Linked DNA regions of Homo sapiens: all the other regions are linked to region 1. The links are contacts of gene promoters, found by promoter capture Hi-C in blood cells and fetal thymus (Javierre and others, 2016). All regions are on one chromosome and are shown on one strand. Each heading gives the region's core, a stretch centred on a gene start or on the middle of the fragment in contact. The rest is flanking DNA. Distances are from core to core; before and after follow the strand shown.

The links. Contacts are between HindIII fragments. The CHiCAGO score rates a contact against its expected background, and 5 or more counts as called.
Region 2: a fragment that was not itself captured here is called in contact with the fragment with the promoter of SDHB in region 1 in 3 of 17 cell types (total CD4 T cells, naive CD8 T cells and erythroblasts); the score reaches 6.3 in total CD4 T cells.
Region 3: a fragment that was not itself captured here is called in contact with the fragment with the promoter of SDHB in region 1 in 4 of 17 cell types (neutrophils, endothelial precursors, megakaryocytes and 1 more); the score reaches 8.5 in neutrophils.
Region 4: a contact is called between a fragment that was not itself captured here and the fragment with the promoter of SDHB in region 1, in 2 of 17 cell types (neutrophils and monocytes). The highest score is 13.5, in neutrophils.

The regions. Positions count from the first base shown.
Region 1 is chr1:17,052,464-17,055,655 of GRCh38, forward strand. SDHB (succinate dehydrogenase complex iron sulfur subunit B) reads right to left here and starts at 1,569. Exons shown (of 8, transcript NM_003000.3): 1 at 1,485-1,569. The coding sequence starts at 1,556. RefSeq lists enhancers at 1,449-1,508, 2,059-2,108. The HindIII fragment of the contact is 17,146 bases long and covers 1-3,192 here.
Region 2 is chr1:16,611,942-16,615,133 of GRCh38, forward strand. It overlaps NBPF1 (NBPF member 1), which reads right to left and starts at 1,623. Exons shown (of 18, transcript NM_001405701.2): 1 at 1,397-1,623. RefSeq lists an enhancer at 1,467-2,424. The HindIII fragment of the contact is 6,693 bases long and covers 1-3,192 here.
Region 3 is chr1:17,384,525-17,387,716 of GRCh38, forward strand. All of the region lies in intron 6 of PADI6 (peptidyl arginine deiminase 6), which reads left to right. Among named protein-coding and RNA genes, the nearest start is that of PADI6, 14 kb to the left of the region's middle. The HindIII fragment of the contact is 3,457 bases long and covers 1-3,160 here.
Region 4 is chr1:17,354,497-17,357,688 of GRCh38, forward strand. It overlaps PADI4 (peptidyl arginine deiminase 4), which reads left to right. Exons shown (of 16, transcript NM_012387.3): 11 at 37-191; 12 at 1,487-1,631; 13 at 1,861-1,963. Among named protein-coding and RNA genes, the nearest start is that of PADI6, 16 kb to the right of the region's middle. The HindIII fragment of the contact is 6,300 bases long and covers 1-3,192 here.

The DNA of each region.
Region 1 (3,192 bases), core at 319-2,818:
GCCTGGAATTACAAAAATGACCTATGAAATTAGCCTTTTCTACAATGCATTCTTAGAAGAGGGGCTTGGAACTCTCTCGTTAGTGGGGCTCTCACAATTTAATTGTTTGCTCAGCAACTATAAAAGGAACAGGTAAACAAGCTCATTATCAATCATCAATTTAATACTGAGAGGATGTCAGCTTGAGGCTCTGGTAGGCTGTCTTCTTCCTCTATCTCCCCTTTTCAGAAAGGCTGATGCAGACAGAGTGGATCCAAGTTCACACACAGCATGCTGGATAGAACCAGGATTGGAACATGGGCAATATGTACTGTGTTATGCAGCCATAGCAGGCACTTAAGATGAAAGATGTCCTCATTTAAGTGCAAGAGAGGAAGAGGAACTAAAATTTCTTGGACACCAACCATGTCCCAAGATCTATGCTAAGGAGTTTTTCTGGTACCATGTTAAAAAACTGCCTCAGGTCTGCTTCTTGGGAATGTGATATTTTGAGCAAGCCAAAAATTTTCTTTCTGGGGGCCTCAAGTTTTCAAAGCTCCAAAAAGGAGGGTAAGGATTCTTGCTTGCCCACCTTAAAGGGGTTGTTGAGAATCCCAGAAGAGGAACAGACTTAGAAAGGATTTGCAAATCCTTAGTCCCTTATGTATACAAAAGCAATTTCCCTTCCCCTTCTAAATGTTCCCACTTAGAAGGCAGGTCAGAAATGTGTTGTTTCTTGGCCATACAAGGGGCGTGGGAAAATCTGTTACTGCACACGGCATAGTAATAAACAAGAACAGCGCCAAGCCCTCTACCTGTCATTCCATGTCAACTCTATGAGGTCCGTATTATTATATGACCTTTAGAGTCAGAAACACTGAGAGGATACTAGTGAAACTGTGGTGACACTGCTTTAAGGAACCCAGTCTTTCCTGCAACCCCCACCACCCACCTCCGGGATCCTTCGAGGTAGGGGGCTGGGTGCATTTCCCTCCATCTCTCCCTTCCCCTGCCCTGTCCCCAACAATTCACATGTCCTTTCCTCACCCATCCCGGTCCTCAACCTCGCACCCTTGAGGAATTACCTCGCTTCCCAATTCCCATCCTTCACACCCCGCAGGTCTCCCTTTTCTACAGAGGCGATAGTTTGGTGGCAGAAAAAGGGCTTGGAACTCCAATGTCTGGATTCAAATTCTGGTTCCAGCAGTCATTCGCTTGCCATGTGACCTTGAGCAATTCAAGTCCCCTTTCTGAACGTCCCCCCCCCCCGCACCCTTAGCTGTAAAAAATTGCCCGTGCCCTAACTCACAAGCTGCTGCGAGGCGCAGAAAGATAACTTGACAGGGATGCTCGAAGCCAAACCAAAGCACTGCACCAGGGGGAGGAGGTCCTCCATCTCCCTGAGGCCTTGCCCTATGCTTCCTCAGTCTCTCCGCAGCCCCATCAGCTCCAGGCAGTCTCTGTGGCTTTCCTGACTTTTCCCTCTCTGAGGCTCCAGGACTCACCTGCAGGCAGGCTCCGCCAAGGGTTGTGGCCGGCAACCGGCGCCTCAAGGAGAGGGCGACCACCGCCGCCATCTTGGCTCCTGACGTCAGCCCCACCCCTTAACCCCGAGGTCGCTCTCCGCCGGTGTCCCGTCGAACATCGCGGCGCCCAGCCTACATCCACTGAGGACCCACTAGCCGCGTACGAGCAACCAAGTGGGAGGCGGCTTCCGGTTTCCCGGGTGGGCGGAGGGAAGGCGGGGCAAGCACAGCGAGCGTGCGCAATAGCGCAGTAGCGGCGCATGCCCATTTGGCTTCCCCCGTGACCTTCTCAGAAAGGGGAGGAGTCTGAGAGGCAGGGCGACTTTCAGGGGGTGGGGCTAAGACTTAGATGGGGCGGAGCCATCCTATCCGGGTCCCTGCCCCGATTTCAACCTCTTTATTCCTGGAATTTTTGTTTGTTTGTTTGAGATGGAGTCTCGCACTGTTTCCCGGGCTGGAGTGCAATGGCGCGATCTTGGCTCACTGCAACCTCCGCCTCCCGGGTTCACGCGATTCTCCTGCCTCAGCCTCCCGAGTAGCTGGGATTACAGGCGCACACCATCACACCCGGCTAATTTTTTGTATTTTTAGTAGAGACGGGGTTTCATCATCTTGGCCAGACTGGTCTTGAACTCCTGACCTCGTGATCCGCCCACCTTGGCCTCCCAAAGTGCTGGAATTACAGGCATGAGCCACTGCGCCCGGCCAATTTTTTTTTTTTTTTTCAGACAGGGTCTCACTCTGTTGCCCAGGCCGGTGTGCAGTCTTGGCTCACTGCAGCCTCGACTTCCCAGGCTCAAGCGATCCTCCCACCTCCAGAGTAGCTGGGACTACAGGCGTGTGAGCCACCATACCCGGGTAGTTTTTTTTTTTTTCTTTTTTTTGAGATGGAGTATCGCTCTGTCTCCCAGGCTGGAGTGCAGTGGCGCGATCTCGGCTGACTGCAACCTCCGCCTCCCGGGTTCAAGCAATTCCCTGCCTCAGCCTCCCGAGTAGCTGGGATTATAGGCGTCCGCCATCATGCCCGGCTAATTTTTTTGTGTTTTTAGTAGAGATGGGGTTTCACCATCTTGGCCAGGCTGGTCTTGAACTCCTGACCTCGTGAGCCACCCACCTCGGCCTCCCAAAGTACTGGAATTACAGGCATGAGCCACCGCGCCCGGCCACCCGGATAATTTTTTTAAAAAATTATTTGTAGAGATGGAGTCTGGCTATGTTGCCCAGGCTGGGCTCAAGCAATCATCCTGCTCCAACTTCCCAAAGTGCTGGGATTACAGGCGTGAGCCACCACACCTAGCCTCCCTAAGAATTTGTCAGTCTTATTATTCATCTCTGACGCTTACTGGCTTGAGTCAGCCCTTTCTGTCGCATACCGTGCAGCTTGCCCGAGGCTGCCCAGGTTTCTGCACTGAGAGTCCCAAACAAACTGGGCAGTTGGTGAATGAGCTGAGGTGATTTCAAGGGTGGCTGGCAAAGGTGCCATTCTTTTGTTCGTTCATTCATTCATTCATAAATACGAATGGAGTGGCTACTATGTGGCAGGCACCAAGTGCTGGGATGCTGCAGGGAATGAGCAAGCCAGGTGGTCACTGCTCATTGAATTTACTCTCTAGTGGTGGAGACGGCAAGTGAGCAGACAGCTAGACACTGTGAGCTCTGTTCTGTACGAGAGGGTGTGCCCAGAGAA
Region 2 (3,192 bases), core at 353-2,852, 440 kb before region 1:
ATGTTCAATTTCTTGATCTGTGGTGGTTCACTTGGTAAAAATTCATTACTTTTTTTTTTTTTTTTTTGAGACAGGGTCTCACTCTGCCATCCAGGTCGGAGTGCACTGCCATGATCACGGCTCACTGCAATCTCAACCTCCCGGGCTCTGGTGATCCTCCCAACTCAGCCTACCGGGTAGCTGGGACTACAGGCACACGCCACCACACACAGCTAACTTCTGTATTTTTAGTAGAGAAAGGGTTTTGCCACATTGCCCAGGCTGGTCTGGAAATCCTGGGCTCAAGTGATCTACCCACCTTGGCGTCCCAAAGTGCTGGGATTACAGGTGTGATCACTGCGCCCGGGCCACCTGCACATGTAAAATTGTGAACTTCTGTATACTTCAGTAACTTTTCCAAGATTTCTTTGACGCAAAGTTCTCAGAAATCTTAAAGCTAGCATTTCAGAATAGAAAAAGTAGCTTCTGGTTCACTAGTGAAATTTTACCAATAGAATTTAAAAACAAAAAGCTACTAACGCATATCAGCTCAGAACACTACCAGCAGATCTTTTCTTTAACTTCCTGAAGCACTGGGATTCATTCTTTTGGCAAAGAAAGGATGAACAACACTGTAACCCAAAGAAAAGATACCACTGCCAGAAAAGACTTCTTTTCGAAAGCAGCTCTAAGCAAAAGATAGGAGGAAAACAAGGAAGCCAGGCCAAACGTCTTGGTTAACTCTCCGCTGAAAGGACGCCACATGAGATGATCTAAGAAGCCAGCCAGCCAGCCAGACGCAGGGAAATCACAGCAACTCTTTGGAGTGCAAACAGCAACCCCACAATCCAATCTACCCGAAATCCTGCGGTTCATTTGAGGCTTGCCCCGCTAGTCAGGAGGTGATTCAGTGATGGCTACAAATGCTGCTCATGTGCATCCTGGAGCTGGCACACCTGGCTTGCCCATCACCAGCCTGGAGACACCGCCAGGAGCAGAAGCCCGGAGGCCAGTAAAGACCCCAACTTTGCAAGTCAGGGGCGCGAGCGCGCTCGCCTCTCAGGTCCGCAGAGGGAACGGATTTCTGGCCTGGAGGGTGGGGTGCGGGGTCAGTGTCCTCTACAGGATATAGGAGGACGTGCCCCCGAAGCTGCTCCGTCCCTCCACCCCCTGGGATGCCACAGAACACCCGCCAGCGAGTTTCTTCCCCAGCGCCCACGAGAGTTGGGCTGCGGGCGGCAGCGGCAGGCGAAGAATCCAGCGCGGGGAACTCAGGCCCCGGCGGTGCACGACCCCCCACAGCCCCCACCCGCCCCCGCGCTCGCGCAACAAAACTTGCCACGGCCGCGCCTCGACCCAGCTGTGCGCCCGCGGGTCCCGGATTCACCGCCCGCCCAGCCTGGCGCGGCGCCCTCACCTCAGAAACGCTGGGTGGACTTCGCGTAACTTCCCATTCACAGGGCAGCCGGCAGCCGCGCCGCCGCGCCTCGGCCCAGCTCCTGGCGCCGCAGATCGCCCGTCCCGCGTTCCCAAAAGCACCGCGCTCGCTCAGAAGCTCGGGCAGCCTCGCGACCCTCACCTACGCCTCCCAGTACCGCCGCTGTCTCAACCGCCACCCAGCCCCTCGCCTGCGCCTGCGCCTGCAGCCCACTGGCTCCTCAGGATCCCGATGGGCGTGTCAGGATAACCCAAGGCGCAGGCGCGGCGGGGCCTTAAAGGGACCCGGCGGCCTCTTCTGCACAACGGGTTCGAGCAGGTTAGGGGCCGCGCAGGCGGAGGAAAGGAGTAACCCAGGGGAAGGACCGAGTGCAGCGGGGACGGGGAAATCCCTCTCTCCCCTCCGCCTGTCTTTCAAAGCACCAGCCCTCGACCCTCCAAATCGCTGGTTTCCCCGGCCACTTGAACAGCCCCTGCCAGGTTGAAGAGGCAGGAGACACACCCCCTCTGGGGCTGGAGCGACCCCGCGCTTAGGACTGCAGGCCTCGCGCTGCCGCACCGCCCCGAATCTGACTTCCAGGCACGGGCACGCGGTGCAGTCGGGCAGGCTTCAGAAGAGCCCCCAGCTCTCCCAGAGGTGGCCTTAGGTCACTCTCAAAAAGAATAACCAATGTGTCAATGGCACTTGTAGTTATTTTCTAATTTAAATTTATTAACAGATTTTGCAGATGGGCTTCCACTGAAATAAGCCTTTGAGAAAAAGAAAAACTTTTTTTTTCAACAGGATTAGAATACCAAGAAATAGGAAGTAAAGCCATGCCGTCCACCCAGCTAAAAACTTTGAAAACTTGATATTTTATCTAAGGCAAATGTTTGCATAACTTTAGGTCATGCCATTATTTAAAGTCAATTTCAGTTAACAATTTCATTGCAACTGAATCTATCTTGTATAAGAAAACTAAGATACATCCCTGATAATCTACCTCTCCCCTCCTATACTCCATCCGTCAGCAAATCCTACTGGTTTTTACCTTCCAAATTTTCCTTGAATCTGTCCTCTTCTATCTCCTCCGTCACCACCCTAGTCTAGGCTGCCTTCACCTGGGGAGTGAGGGTCGAGGGACTACTGACCTAGTCTTCTTGTGGTTTACCCATATCCCCTTTATCGCCTCTCTAATCTCAACACAACAGGCAGAGTGGCTTTTCCAAAATATAATGTGACCGTGTCACTTCCCAGCCTAAAGCACTTAAACACCTTCCCATTCTCTTAGACAAAACCTCCTAACTAACCAAGCCCCGAATGGCCAGGCGCCTTGCCCACTTCTTCATCTCTTCTCACTACTCAGACCAATTCTGTTCTGCTCTCTCTGCTCCAGCCAAACTGGCCTCTTTTATTCCCTATTTACCAGCTTCCTGGCCTCCACAGAGCTTTTGCTCATGCTTTGCTCTGTGCCTGGAAAGTTCTTCTAACCCCTATTCTTCTGAGAACAGCTGTAGTCTCCACCTCTGAAAAGCACCTTCTGACCTCCCTATGGTGGTCCCTTACTCCTATCACATTGCATGAAACTGTAATCGGGTGGTTATTTTGGTGAATTTTTTACTATCGGCTACGTAAGCCCAGGGTTTGGTTTTGTTTGCTTCATGATTTGTATTTCCACATTTGTTAAATACATATTTGTTCATAAATGAGAATGATGGATGCTAGAAGTTGAAGTAAATTTGGCATAAAGTCAGAGAAAGAGAAAATGTCACAATCTGACAGTTGGAGTCAGAATG
Region 3 (3,192 bases), core at 182-2,681, 330 kb after region 1:
TGAGGTCAGGAGTTTGAGACCAGCCTGGCCAACATGGTTAAAACCATCTGCTAAAAATACCAAAATTAGCTAGGTGTGGTGGCTTTAGCTTGTAATCCTAGCTACTCAGGAGACTGAGGCGGGAGGATCATGTGAACCCGGGAGGCAGAGGCTGCAGTGAGCCGACATTGCACCACTGCACTCCAGTCTGGGCAAAGTAAGGCAGTGGCCAACCCTGGCAAATGCTGTGGGATAGACTAAGATGCCCAAGCCCATAGTAAAGTCACAATCCTCAGAATGGCAGTCATCAGTGACCCTGATAATAACAGTGAAAAGCCAGGTTGAAATGGGGAGGCACAGTAAATCTAGGCCACAGAAAGAATTCTCTCTCCGTAAAGGGAGATGTGTGGTGGTAATTACAGGGGCCAGCACGCAGTCGAGCGTGTCTGAAGCTGGTAGTACACGGGCAGATGTATAGATGGAACTGATCCAACAGGGGTGGGGAAATGGATCCTAGAGGAAGATCTGAGAAGTTTGCAGAGGAATAGAAAGCCAGAAGACAAGGTTCTAAACAGGCTGGGCGTGGTGGCTCACACCTGTAATCCCAGCACTTTGGGAGGCCAAGGCAGGAGGATCACCTTTAGGACTATGGAATACAGGTGAGTCTGTGGACAGGAATGAGACGATAGTGTTTGAGTAGTGTTGGTGGCTTGCTCTGAGGTCTGGTCGTAGCCTGAAATGAGGCCTTTTGGTGTGATGGTTTTCTCCAGCATCTCAGGTGCAAGAGTGAGCTTTAAAGACCTGGTGTGACCAGAATGGAGGTTTTCCAGGAAAGCAAACTAGAAAAAGGTGTGGGAGTGGACAGTGTGTATAAGAGAGGATGTAGTGATGGGTTTTTGGGCTCTGAGAAGGGTCAAAGGGAAGTGTGAGGATGGAGGGTGGGGATCGGTAGGAGGATCTGGGACTGAGGTTGGGGACTCGCTGGGGTGGGAGCATAGGTGAGCGAAACAGATCGGAAGGCATTGTCTGCCTTGGAGGTGGCATCTAGTCTGGGTTATGATCATTGTAATGGATGTCTAAGGTGGTATAGAACCCAGGTTCATTGAAATAAGGTCGTCGAAGAGAGATCAAAATGTCTAGATGTTCTAGTCTATTGTCAGATACCAGTGACACAACAGCAGTGGAGGGCAAGTATGCTAGAACAATCCACGAAGGATGGAGAGGATGACATCGTCGTCCCCAAAAGAAAGGGGTAGCTGGCATTATCTGATGGCCAGCACTTCACAGGAACTGGGATTCTTGAGGAATAGAGAAATGGCCGAGAAGTGCCAGTGAAGAACCAAGAAGGGTACCCACCTTCCTGTAAGTCCAGCAGTACATGGCAGGTAGGAAAAAGCTCAGCTCAAATCATCAGTATTTGCTCTGTGCCCTGAGGATCCAGCTCTGGAAGAATAAACCATGTTACCTGCTCTCAGAGCCTGCTACGACAGATGGACAGACAGTCGAGGACCCAGCAGAGGCTGGAGGGAGCCCTTTAATATGCCCCCAGGGTGGGTAGGGAGAGTTTGAGGTAGCTAAGGCCTCCTGGGCAGCTCTGTGAGGACTGAGGGCAGGGAGGGCCTTCCAGGTAGAGGCAGCTATTGTGTGTACTTGGGTCGCAGGGCTTCTGGCCTCCCCCATGCTTCTGTTTAATGGGGACAACAAATGCCTGCTTCAAAGGGTCCTGAGGATGTGAGCCCATGAGCCTGAAACACCTACCACAGCTCCTAGCAAAGATAGCCCACAGTGAAATGTTAGCTATGCTTCACAACAAACTATCTGTGAGAGGGGCCCCCAGAAGGTCAACCACAGGAGAGCCAGCCAGTAGGGGATTGTGGCAAACAGACTGTGACCCTCTCGCCCTCACTGCCTGGTGGTGAATCACCCTTGGGTGGAATGGCCACAGGGAGCCCAGGTCCCCAGAACAGGAGCAGGCCCTAGGTGTGTGGCACCTCTTGGGCTGCATGCCGTGGGCCTGCTGATGCTATCGCAGGTCAAGAGGGCTGTGTCTGCACTGGGAAGTTGCAGGGGTTCCTGGGGGAAGACTGCCTTGTCTGGTCTTGCCCCATGAGGCCTGGCTCAGGGCTGGTGAAGCATCTAGGTAGATGAGAAGCAGGAACTAGCACAGGAGTGGTCCCGGTGGGCCCAGTTCCCTCACAGCCAGCAGCAGGACTGAGGCTGGGCCTGTAACCAGCATCCCCAGGGCCTCCAAGGAGGGGCTGCTGCAGAACTGCAGAGTCCATCGGGAGGGCTGCTGGGGCTCTAACCCAGAGCAAGAGGCCGAGGACCCAGGGCAGTGCCTAACCAGGGGCAGCCACGGCCGCAGCTGCAGCCATCTGCTGGCACGTTGGAGGAGCTGGAGATGGAGGCAGCTGGCAGTGCCGTGCAGAAGGTCTGAGGATGCTACAGTTCCTGGATCTCTTGGGGTTCTAGTGGCCAAGGTAAATCTAGCTTAGGATCCCCTGAAATAAGTCACCTGGAATCTTGAGCAGGAACAGCCATCAGGCCTACAGCTGCCACATCGGGCACAGATAGAGGACAGGCCAGGAAAGAGGAAGTTCGAGTGACCCAGGTGGGAGAAGTCAGGGTCATTTCTGACCTAGAAAATGAATGGACTTGGGCTGGGCACAGTGGCTCACGACTGTAATCCTAGCACTTTGGGAGGCTGAGGCAGATGGATTGCCTGAGCTCAGGAGTTGGAGACTGGCCTGGGCAATGTGGTAAAACCCCATCTCTACTAAAAATACAAAAAACTAGCCGGGCATGGTGGTGCACACCTATAGTCCTAGCTACTCAGGAAGCTGAGGTACAAGAATTGCTTGAACCCAGGAGATGGAGGTTGAAGTGAGCCGAGATAGTGCCGCTACACTCTAGCCTGCTCAACAGAGCAGGACTCCACCTCAAAAAAGAAAAGGAGGGGGGGGGGCCAGGCGTGGTAGCTCACACCTGTAATCCCAGCACTTTGGGAGGTCCGAGGTAGGCAGATCACGAGGTCAGGAGATCAAGACCATCCTGTCTAACGAGACGGTGAAATCCCGTCTCTACTAAAAATACAAAAAATTAGCCAGGCGTGTGGTGGTAGGTGCCTGCAGTTCCAGCTACTCAGGAAGCTGAGGCAGAATGGCCAGAATCCAGGAGGCAAAGCTTACAGTGAGCTGAGATCACGCCACTACA
Region 4 (3,192 bases), core at 494-2,993, 300 kb after region 1:
TCCTCTAACTCTTGGCACTCCCTTCTCCTATCTCAGGGTCCAGATTTTGGCTATGTAACTCGAGGGCCCCAAACAGGGGGTATCAGTGGACTGGACTCCTTTGGGAACCTGGAAGTGAGCCCCCCAGTCACAGTCAGGGGCAAGGAATACCCGCTGGGCAGGATTCTCTTCGGGGACAGCTGTTATCCCAGGTAAGGAGGGGAGTAACAGGAAGGGGTGGCCAGGACCCAGGTATGCCGTAGAAAAGCAGAGGCCAGAGTGGAAGCCTTGCCTTCCTGCTTCCGATTCTAGACAGCCCAACAGACTTGAGGGAGTGTGAGAGGAATCCAAGCGCAGGGTGAGGAATGCGGGCTTTGGAGCCCATAGACCCAAGTTCAATTCCAGCCCTGCCACTTACCCTCTTTCAGTCAGTGAATATTTACTGAGCATCCAAAATGTTCTGGGAGCTGGGAATGCAGCCGTGGACAAGAAAGACAAGTCCTTACCACTACTCTAGTAGGGAAACAGATGATAGAAAAGTAGACAAGATAACTTCAAATGACAAAAACAAAAGAGAGGGGCACGGGAGGAATAGGAACTGTTAGGGTGACCAGGGAGGTCCTCTCTGGGGAAGGGGCTTTTGAACTGAGGCCTAATGACAGAAGGGACAGGGCCACCTGGAGATCTGGGACAGAGAGTTCCTGGCAAATGAAAGTGCATGTGCAAAGGCCCTGAGGCAGGAATGAGCTCCTGCGTGCAAGGCCAGGATGGCTAGAACCTATTGAACAAGAAGAGGCTGGGCACAGTGGCTCACACCTGTAATCCCAGCACTTTGGGAGGCCAAGGCAGGTGGATTACCTGAGGTCAGGAGTTCGAGACCAGCCTGACTAACATGGCGAAACCCCGTCTCTACTAATGCAAAAATTAGCTGGGCCTGGTGATGCATGCCTGTAATCCCAGCTACTCGGGAGGCCGAGGCAAGAGAATCGCTTGATCCCGGGAGGCGGAGGTTGTAGTGAGCCGAGATTGTGCCAGCCTGGGCAACAGAGCAAGACTCTGTCTCAAAAAAAAAAAAAAAAGTGAGGAAGAACAAGGCACTGCAACACTAATTTTTTTTTTTAGGAGAAAACTGAGGCTCAAACAGGTGAAGGAATGTCCCCAAGGCCACATGGCTAACAAGAGATCACCGACTTAGGTCAGACTGGCTCTAAGCCCCATGTGTACCCAGAATACCAGCATCTCATCTAACTCAAGAGGCAGTGCTTTCTGAGGCTAAGCTCTGTTCTACTTACCTTAGTGACTCTGTGCCTCAGTTTCCCCCAATAAAACTAGAATGACAATTCCTTGATTTCTCAAATGTTAGGGGATAAAATAAAGGCATTCTAGACTCCTGCATCCCTTTCTCAGCTGAAGGAGAACCCTGACCTTTTTGCCAAGCCCCTTGTCCTTCAGGGACTTCCCTGTAGCCCTTGCTGCCGATAACACCCCTTTAACCCTGCCATGACAGCAATGACAGCCGGCAGATGCACCAGGCCCTGCAGGACTTCCTCAGTGCCCAGCAGGTGCAGGCCCCTGTGAAGCTCTATTCTGACTGGCTGTCCGTGGGCCACGTGGACGAGTTCCTGAGCTTTGTGCCAGCACCCGACAGGAAGGTACAGTCTTGGGGGCTGCCTCAGGAAGCCATGCCTCCTTCCTGGGTAGACCCTCTGCCTGGGGTGGGAGCAACTTTACTTGTCTATTTCTCCTTCACCCTTAGGATGGCAGTAGAGGAGGTGGCCAGCTTGGGTCCAAGTCCACACTACTCCCACCCTCAGCAGATCCACCCTCGTTGGGAGCTCCAGGGGCAAAGCTGACTTCTAACCCCAGTGTTTCTGCCTCCAGGGCTTCCGGCTGCTCCTGGCCAGCCCCAGGTCCTGCTACAAACTGTTCCAGGAGCAGCAGAATGAGGGCCACGGGGAGGCCCTGCTGTTCGAAGGGATCAAGAGTAAGTCGGCCCTGCCTTGTTCTCCTGTCTGTGCACCTTCCTGCTTCCCATAGTCCGCTGTTGCCTGGAGGGAATCATCCAGGCAATAGGGTAGCATCTGAGCACCTACTGTGCGCCAGGCACTGTGCCAAGTGCTAGGGAGACTGCATGAACAGGGCAGAACAGCTTGCTGCCCTGTGGGCTCACAGGCCAGGGGGAAGTGAGTCAAAAGAACAGCTCCAACACAGGGGCTTTGAGGGGTGTCTGAGTGGATGGAGCTCAGGGAAGGCTTCTTGGAGGAGGCAGAGGCCAAGCAGTAGCATGCAAGTAGGGGTTGGCTGGGCAAACGGGGCAGGGAAATGAGAGGAAGAGAGATACCACAGGCAGAGGGACGGGGGTGGGGCGGCTCAGAGGCAGGAGAAAGCACGATGTGTGTGAGGACCTCGGGGAGGTTCGGTATAGCTGGAGCACAGATGAAATATTACTCTCTCAGCAGAGCTCACAGACATGGGCCAGGCCCCGGGCTGAGATGCCTCTGTGGCTGAGAGCTCCACCTCAGATCTGAGTATGTTGTGTGGCATCAGGAGAGGGCTGACCTGTTTCTTCCTCTCTCGATGGGATCTCTTTGGAGATAAGATAATTTAGCGTTAATGCAAGGCAAAATGTTCCAGTGAACAAGTTTCATGGTTCAACTTTATAATAATTATAAGTAAACCTGTTAAATTTTTCTGGACATTCTTTTCTTTTGAAACGAAGTTTTCCTCTATTGCCCAGGCTGGAGTGCAATGGCGCGATCTCGACTCTCTGCAGCCTCTGCATCCCGGGTTCAAGTGATTCTCCTGCCCCAGCCTTCCGAGTAGCTGGGATTACAGGTGTGCACCACCACACCTGGCTAATGTTTTGTATTTTTAGTAGAGATGGGGTTTTGCCATGCTGGCCAGGCTGGTCTCGAACTCCTGACCTGGTGATCCACCCACCTCGGCCTCCCAAAGTGCTGGGGTTACAGGCATGAGCCACCACGCCTGGCTTAAAACAAGGACATTTCTTATTGACAGCAACTAAATGGTACTTGTAGCATTTTTATCACACAGTAGATTCCATCCATTCACTATACTTTTCTGAGCTGTCTGTCCTGCATGCAAGTAGATATTTTTAATGTTGTCTGTTTTCTGTGCTGTTCCTGTAAGTGTGCTATTAAAATACACTAAACTAGGCTGGGCGCGATGGTTCATGCCTGTAATCCTAGCACT